Linked DNA regions of Homo sapiens: all the other regions are linked to region 1. The links are contacts of gene promoters, found by promoter capture Hi-C in human tissues and cell types (Jung and others, 2019). All regions are on one chromosome and are shown on one strand. The core of a region is centred on a gene start or on the middle of the fragment in contact, and the rest is flanking DNA. Distances in the headings are between cores, read along the strand shown.

Evidence for each region. The method cuts DNA at HindIII sites, captures the fragments that hold promoters and counts their contacts. A contact is called where the count stands out against the background at its distance.
Region 2: a contact is called between a fragment that was not itself captured here and the fragment with the promoter of TBC1D16 in region 1, in 2 of the 25 tissues and cell types used here (hippocampus and thymus).
Region 3: a contact is called between a fragment that was not itself captured here and the fragment with the promoter of TBC1D16 in region 1, in 1 of the 25 tissues and cell types used here (pancreas).

The regions. Positions count from the first base shown.
Region 1 is chr17:80,034,537-80,037,236 of GRCh38, forward strand. It overlaps TBC1D16 (TBC1 domain family member 16), which reads right to left and starts at 1,336. Exons shown (of 12, transcript NM_019020.4): 1 at 1,259-1,336. It overlaps CCDC40 (coiled-coil domain 40 molecular ruler complex subunit), which reads left to right and starts at 2,106. Exons shown (of 20, transcript NM_017950.4): 1 at 2,106-2,155. The coding sequence starts at 2,127. RefSeq lists a silencer at 1,335-1,404 and enhancers at 1,595-1,714, 2,614-2,700. The HindIII fragment of the contact is 13,824 bases long and covers 1-2,700 here.
Region 2 is chr17:79,794,924-79,797,623 of GRCh38, forward strand. It overlaps CBX8 (chromobox 8), which reads right to left and starts at 2,154. Exons shown (of 5, transcript NM_020649.3): 1 at 2,007-2,154; 2 at 1,574-1,617; 3 at 1,327-1,392; 4 at 1,134-1,200; 5 at 1-635. The coding sequence starts at 2,075. RefSeq lists enhancers at 199-939, 2,187-2,481 and silencers at 1,853-2,232, 2,393-2,602, 2,633-2,700. The HindIII fragment of the contact is 6,409 bases long and covers 1-2,700 here.
Region 3 is chr17:80,270,395-80,273,094 of GRCh38, forward strand. The region is part of intron 2 of RNF213 (ring finger protein 213); the gene reads left to right. Among named protein-coding and RNA genes, the nearest start is that of RNF213, 11 kb to the left of the region's middle. RefSeq lists a silencer at 705-754. The HindIII fragment of the contact is 4,608 bases long and covers 1-2,700 here.

The sequences.
Region 1 (2,700 bases), core at 86-2,585:
TAGTCTCACCATAAACATGCCACTTACAAAAAAATATGCGCACAATAACCACGCTCAGGATGCAAACAACATCCATTAATGAACTTTGTAGTTAATACCAAAAGTTACTCCTCACTTTATTCTTTATTTACAAAAGCTTTCATGGTTCTTAAAAGTGTTTAGTATTCACCAATTTTACTGTTAGCGTTTCTAATGAGGATTTTCTAAAACTGAGGCATGGATTTGAAAAAGTGTTCTGATCAATCAGTAACAGATTTGGAATGGAATCTCCAGCCCCCAGTCTTTGCGCCCACCCTCTGGCAATATGCCGCCTCACGTGAGCATCTTTAAGACGGAGTTCCCTTTTTATTCCAGATAAAAGAATTAGGAGCCTTCTGGTAGAAAAGAAAGCAGATCTTCAGGATCAAGTCGCAGAGGCTGGCCAATCAGCCCAGCTTCTCATTTGAACTTGACCCAGACAGTAAAACAAACTTTACCATAAGGCGAGACTAACTTTTGTTATGTCTTTTCTATTCATTTCCTATTTCTGAATCAAATCTGAACTACTTTGTGGCCAATATACGACACCAGCTTCCGAGTGTGGGAATCACAGGATTTCAGGATTCAGCGGCTTCCGGCAGGATCCCCTAGGTTATGTTTAGCAATCTTCAGTTGCCTTTCCTTTTTTTCTTTCCTTCCTTTCGTTCTTTCTTTCTTTTTCTTTTTTTTTTTTTCCCAAAGGAAAGAACAAGGGAGCCCAGGCGGAACGGAAGTGAGTATCCCGACACGCGGATCTTAAACAGCCCAGACCACCAAGCCCGACAGGCCGGGAAAGCTGAGCGCGCGCTGCTGGGGGGACGCACACTTTGGAGGCTGTGTGGGCGCGCGCCGGCACCCCACAAGTTCTCATCCGTCTGCTCCGCCGATTCAGCCAGACAAAGACCGCAAGTTCCCCGGTCCACCGCTCCAGACAGGCGGGGACCAGTCTCCCCGAATTAGGCCCATTCCGGGCCCGGGCGCCCTCACTCGCCGCGGGGAAAAGTCCCCAGGTGCCCCTCCGTGATCCAGGTCCTCCCACAACGCTCCCGCTCCTGCTGGCGCCCCGCACCCCGAGGACGGCGGCCGGACCCCGGCCCCTCCCCGGTCCCGCGGCTGCAGGCCCACGCGCCCCACGCGCCCCGCGCGCCCCCGCCCCAGCTCCGCCGAGGGGGCGCTGCTCGCTGCGCGGTGGACCCCTCGGACCCCGCCCCCGCGGCCCCGTCCGGGCCCCGATACCCACCCGGGTCCCGCTGCGGGGGCCGGATTCGCGCCGGCTCCGAGAGCCGCCACCGTCGCCTCCGCCGCTGCCGCCGCCAGTGAGGCGCGGCGGGGCGGGGACGCGCGGGGAGGCCCGGCCCCCGGCCCGCCCCCGGGCCCGCCCCCGGCCCGGCCCCTGCCTGCCCCCGCCGGTCTCCCCGCCCACCTTCTGGCCCAGCCCTGGGCCCAAGCCTCTAGTTCCCTGCTGGCCCTCCCTCAGGCCTCGCCGCGTCCCGGCCTCGGGGACTGTGCCCCGTCCCGAGCCTGGCGTCCCCAAAGGAAAGGCAGGGCTCCTCGGACGCTCCGCGTGCGCGCTGGCCCTCCGCTGCCGCCCTCTGCAGGGAGATTTCTCCTATTTCGGACTAGGAAGGGAAGATACGCTCCGGAAGACCCCCCGGGCGTCCATGCAAGGAGTCTCCGTAGGACCCCTGGAGAAGGGCACCGGAGCCCCCTAGGGCAGGAGATGGAAAAGCGCTCGCCATGCGCGGGGTCCCCGGCCCCCGGTGCCCCCAGCCCGCCTGCCATTCCCGGGCGCTTAGCAGTCCGGGGTCCCCAGGTGCCCGGCAGGTCCCTTCGGGACCTCGAGCCGCCCGCTGGGCACACGCTGACGCCGCTGTCGCTTTACAGAAATTGAGCGCAGCCGAGGCGGGACCCGGGCGCAGAGAGCGATAAAGGAAAAGCATGGTCGTGCTCTAATCATTACAGTCTAAGGGACGACACGTCGAGACGGCGCGCGCCTCTGCGTGCGTGGAGATGGCACAAAGGCCGCGCCGCCCCCGGCGGCCCCCGCCCTCGCAGCGCGCGTGGTCCCGGCCCGGCCGGATGTTGACAGCGTCGCCTAGCAACGGGAAATGGCGGAACCGGGCGGCGCGGCGGGCCGGTAAGCCGGGCCGAGGGGCAGCGGGTCTTGGAGTCGCCAGGCCGCGCTCTCCGTTCACCGCTCCAGGTGGCCCCCGCGTCGGCTCCTGCCTCGCCCCTTCGCCTCCACTCCCCCTTCCTCTCGCCTGTGTCCCTTCTCTCGCCATTTTGCTGGCCTTTCCCGTCCACTGCGTTCAGCCCCTCACCCCCCCGCCAACCCTTCTCACTTCTCCCCTCCTGTCCCTTTGTCCTCTCTCGGCCTCCCTCTTTCCCCTACTCCAAGCGCGCGACTCCCTCTAAAACCCGGGACCGCTCACTCTGCAGTCACCATGGCAACCACTCTGCGTGGCGGTCCCTGCGCGCAGTCCTCCTAAGAGTAGAGGGCTCTGCAGGGCGCGGGGCTGTTGGATACCGCCCCTGACCTTGCTCCGGGGCCACTCGCTGTGGCCGGAGACCAGCCCGGCCCCGCGCCTCCCTCCTGCAAGGACAGATCCCCTCTCGCAGGCTTGGGGGTGACCCGCGATGGGAGGGGTCCCTGCGGTTAGGCGGCCCGCGATAGTCCGCGGT
Region 2 (2,700 bases), core at 139-2,638, 240 kb before region 1:
GCCTCCAGGAAGGCAGCCCTGTGCTTTATCACCCTGGCCGGGAAGGTGTCCACAGCCAGTTTGCCCGTGGCCTCAGCTGAGCTAGGGCTGGTCACACCACACTGCACCAGGTCCGAGTCCTGTCTTCGGGCCAGCTGGATCACACTGTGGCCGGCTGGAAACTTTCCTGCCCCGGAAGGGGTGTCGTCCAGCTTCCTGCCCTTGAGGTACTCTCCGAGGCCGGCGCTGGGTTCGCCTAAGGGCCTCTGTGAGGGGTCCGGGAGCTCCTTCCGGGGCTTGGGGCCTCGCTTCTTCGAGCTGTCCCCCGGTGAGCTGGGCTTGTCATCCACTCTGCTGGTACCCCGCTCTCGTTCCCTCTCACGTTCCCGCTCCCTCTCTCGCTCCCTCTCCCTTTCTCGATCCCGCTCCCGGTCCCTATCCCGGTCTCGGTCCCGGTCCCGAGGGGCCTCTGCGCGGCAGGTGCTGCTGGTGCTGGTGCTGCTCGCTGGCGGGGACAAACCCATGTTTCGAAGGCCCTCCCGGGCCCGGGAAGTGGAGGCCAGGTCCTGGGGCGAGCGGCCAGGGTAGGGGATCCGGATGCCCCTGGCTGAGTCACTTCGAAACTCGTAAGTTTTGGCCTTTGCCTTGGCCTGCGCCTGCAGGAGAGAAGATGGTCTCAAGAGTGGGGCAGGGCCCTGTCCACCCCCACAGGACTCCTCCTCTATCCCTGACCTCCTATCTTTACCCTATGATGCCTGGGAATTTCTACATGGATGCATGGATGGGTGGGTGGGTGGGTGGGTGGATGGCTGGATGAATGGGTGGGATGGCTGTTGGAGCTGAGAGGTAGAAGGATGAGAGAAGAGGTAGAAGATTTGGCTGGAAGTAGTCATTTGCAAAAAGTACACTTTTTGCATTTGATTATTGTGTCCATTTGGGAGGGGGAGCGTAAAGGAATTCTAGTGTGGCCAAGCCCGTCCCCCCAGACACAGTTGGTGCTGCTACTGACTTGGTGACATCTTGTCAGGGAACTCCCTCCTACATTACAAATAGGCAACATGTGTGGACACCCCATTGGCTCACAGCCCTCAGAGCCCCCTTCCCACAAATCACTCCATAACATGGTCCTCCACCATTGGACACTGCCAACCTACTTTGAGGAGGAAGGTTTTGGGCTTGGGTCCACGCTTTTTGGGGCCATAGAGCTCCATCTCTCTTTCCCTGGAGAAAGAAGAAAAGGAGAAAGGGTGCGTGAGTAAAGAAAGCAAGTGGGACTCTAGTCCAGGCTGGAAAGAAGCCACTCTACTTGTTTCTAAGTGAGCGGCTGGGACTTGGAAGGGTCTGTACCTTTCCTCAAAGGCTGCGAGCAAGCGAGCATCCAGGATGTTTTCCTCCGGTTCCCATGTGCTGTACCTAAAGGGAATCAGGAAGAAGTGGGCATCAGTCCCAGGAGCAGGGTGAGAGCAGAGGGGGTGTGTGTGTGTGTAACTTTTCTCATTGCATTGTATTGTATTTCAATGTAAAGGCAAAAAGAGGAAGAAAGAAACCTCCCGAATAACAGTCTGGGGTTGAGAATTGCATATAACCTACTTACTTCTGCGACCATCCCTTCCATTTCACGAGGTATTCCATGCGTCCCTGCGGGTGCAAAGGCGATAATGTGTGTGCATGGGGAGAAACGCATGACGAGGATACAAGAAATGCATGCGAAAATGCATGCACCAGATGAATGCTCGAAACCCCGCCGCAAAAGGCACGCGCCCGCTGCATCACCCCTGCACCTAATGCTGCACAAAGTGCATGCACCGGCATTCATTCCCCACCCCGCCCCCCACCCATGCAATCCGTGCATCGCTGCAAGTCTAAGGAAAGCGCCTGGGCTCAGAGCTGCCGCCGCCGCCGCCGCCACGGCCGCGGCCGCTGCTGGGACCTGGGGGAAGGGAAGCTGGGCTGCAGCAGGGGGAGGGAACCCGGGCCGGGAGGGGAGGGCCCGGCCGCACGGAGGCCCTAGGCCCGGGGGCACCTACTTTCCGTATGCGCCGCTTCAGGAGGGCTTCGGCCGCGAACACCCGCTCCCCCACCGCTGAAAGCTCCATGTTGACTCGCCGCTTCCCCCCTTGGCCGCTTCCAGGAGCAGAAAAGCAGCAGCCAGCGCACGACAGACCATAATACTCTCCCGCTGACGTCAGTTCTCCTCCCCCTCCCGGCGCTCTCGCTCCCTCCCGCGGCCCCCCTCCCGCGCTCCTCCGCTCGGCCCCCTCCCCTCCGCCCAGTGCTTCCTCCCGCCCCACGTGTTGCTAACGACGTTGCTAAAGCCGAGCGGCCGGAGGCCTGCGCCCCCGCACGCTGATTGGACGAGCTCCGAGCCACGCCCCTCTGCCTTTCTCCCCCGCGTTGCTACGTGACCAGCGTTCCAATCGCCAGGGGGCGGAGTCCGAGGCGACTCCAGAGACCGAGCGCGCGAGTGGGAGGGGGCGCCGCCGGAAGTGACGCCAGGGGAAGGCGGGCCCGGCCGCTGTCAGTCTGCGGGGCTGGCGAGGGGGGCAGGCCGCCCTCTGTCCTCGCCGGGGCCCCCCTCCCCCGCCACCAAGTTGTCCCTCCGGCGTTCGGCGTCCCCCACAGCTCTCGCTGGGATCCCCGCGGCGATGTCAGCCCGGCTCCGCCCCTCGGCAGACCCCGGCCCGCCGCCCCACCCCCACCGCCCAGGACTCGCGCGGTCCC
Region 3 (2,700 bases), core at 147-2,646, 240 kb after region 1:
TTCAGGCTGGCACATTTACAATGCAAATCTCTTCAAATCCCCTGCACAAAGCTTCTCTGGCCACTCACTGGCCGCGTCTCTGTGCTCCCTGCCTTCTAGATTTCTATTCAGATTCTCTCCAGCGTTCAGAATGATGGATCTTGTCAATCTGTGCCGGTCGTTGGGTGGAAATGGCACTGCAGGGCCTCCGTTCTGATTTCCTTCATCAGTAGGCATGGCAGGCATCTCTTTGGAAGTTAAGAGACCACATGTATGTGTATTTCCTTGAGCGGCCTGTCTGTCTTTAGGGAAGCTCGTTTTGCTTTGGTTGGTCCTTATGATTGTTGGGACTGTTTATACTGGGAACAGCCTGAAACCCAGCTCTCCTAGGCTTGCTCAGCAAGAGAAACGTGCTGGGTCACCGTTGCCCAAGTCCAGGCTTGAGGGGTTCAAGTGTACTAGGGCTTTGCTCCATTTCTCTGATCCTGACAGCTCTGCCCTTCTCCACTGCCAGCTTTGTCTGCAGGTGGAGGAGAACAGACAGTGGTTTCCCAGCACCACCTCATGGTCTTTCCAGGATGCACTGAGTGGCAGAAACCCCAGTAAGGGTCCAGAAGTATGGATGCTTCCATACTTCTTGCTGGTTGGCCCTTCCCTTAGTCAATCACTAGTGCCAGGGTAAATATCGGCCCTGATTGGATTAGGCTAGTCAGGGCCCGCCCCTGGTGGGAGGGTAGGTTGGTGGGAGGGTAGGTTGGTGGGAGGGGCAGGCTCAGAATCCCTGGTTGTAGGTGAAACAGCAGCTCTCGAAGGATGGGGCCTTGGGTCGCCTGTTGCAGATCTTTCTCCAGCTCTTACTTTCTGGCTGTGATGTTTCATGTGTGTCTTATGTATGTAGACGTTTAGAGGATTTGTTATCAATTTTGAGTCCTGCTAAGGAACTTCACGAATTCTTGAGCTCTTGGCTACGCCAACACTGAGTACTCAAAGGGAAAAAGGTCTGCGTGGTCCCTGCCCTCCAGATCTCAGAGGAGGAGAGGGCAGTGACGAAACCAGGTGCTGGAAACGGGCGTGGGGATGAAGTGTCCAGACAGGGGCGCAGCTGGGACTGGCTTGGGGCCTTGGAGAAGGGTCTGTGGGGATCAGGCAGAGGGAAGGTTCTGTACAGAAAAGCAGGCTTGGCCTGGCACCATCTGGAGTGTGTGTCAGGGAGAGGTGGGGTCGTCCAGACCCAGGATTGAAAACAGGGACTCCTTGAAGGGTGTTTTCGTCCATTTTCTGTTGCCATAAGAGTACCCGAGCCTGGGTAATTGAAAAAGAAAAGGCCGGGTGTGGTGGCTCAAGCCTGTAATCCCAGCACTTTGGGAGGCCGAGGTGGGCGGATCACGAGGTCAGGAGTTCAAGACCAGCCTGACCAACATGGTGAAACCCCGTCTCTACTAAAAATACAAAAAAAATTAGCTGGGTGTGGTGGCGCATGCCTGTAATCCCAGCTACTCCAGAGGCTGAGGCAGGAGAATCACTTGAACCCAGGAGGTGGAGGTTGCAGTGAGCCGAGATTGCACCACTGCACTCCAGCCTGGGTGACAGAGCGAGACTCCGTCTCAAAAAAGAAGAAAAAAGAAAAGAGGCCGGGTGGGGTGGCTCACACCTGTAATCCCAGCACTTTGAGAGGGCAAGACGGGTGGATCATGAGGTCAGGAGTTCAAGACCATCCTGGCCAAGATGCTGAAACCCCTGTCTCTACTAAAAACACAAAAATTAGCCGGGTGTGGTGGCATGCACCTGTAATCCCAGCTACTTGGGAGGCCGAGGCAGGAGAATTGCTTGAACCTGGGAGGCAGAGGTTGCAGTGAGCCAAGATTGTGCCTCTGCACTCCAGCCTGGGCGACAGAGCAAGACTCTGTCTCAAAAAAAATAATAAAATAAAATAAAAAAAGAAAAAGAAAAAAGAGGTTTATTTAGCTCACAGTTCTGCAGACTGAGAAGTTCAGGGCCTGGCCCTGATGTCTGGTGAGGGCTTTTGTGCCACATGGCAGAGTAGGCCGACGGGGATGCTGACAGCTGTGAAAGACTAAGCCTGATGGGACATCTTGACTTCATAACAACCCACCTGGCGGGTGCTAATCCATTCCCGAGGGGAGTAAACAAGCCTCTCAAGAGTAAACCCATGACCGCAAACGGCACCAAGCCATTCGTGAGGGATTTGCCCTCACGACCCACAGACCTCCCCGCAGCCCTGCCTCCCAGCACTGGCATACTGGGGATCAACATGAGTTTTGGTGGGGATGGACAAAGTGCGTCCACACCACAATGAAGGCTAGAGTGAGTGTGGGGCTGGCAGAGTGGGTGCTCCATGCTGTCTGCATGGCAGCTCTGCATGGGTGAGAATCTGGAGGCAGAGCAGCTGGGCGGGCAGATGCCTTAGTGCCAGGACAAGGGAAGCAGTTTGAGACCCCTGGGCCGCCACTGGGAGAATGCCCACCCTGGGGAAGACAGGAGGAATGTCTACAGTAGGGGAGGAAAGCGTAACAGGCTCTGTTTTAGAGGTGCCCGAGGTGCGCTGACATCCTAGTACAGAGTCAGGTGAATCCACTCGTGGACATTGGGAGGAAGAGGCTGGATGCTAGGACGGCACAGTCTTTCTGTCTGATTCACCCCTTGTTGTGCTGAAACTGGGGTCCCTGGTTCCCTCCTACCCACCTGGAGCAGAACCCCTAC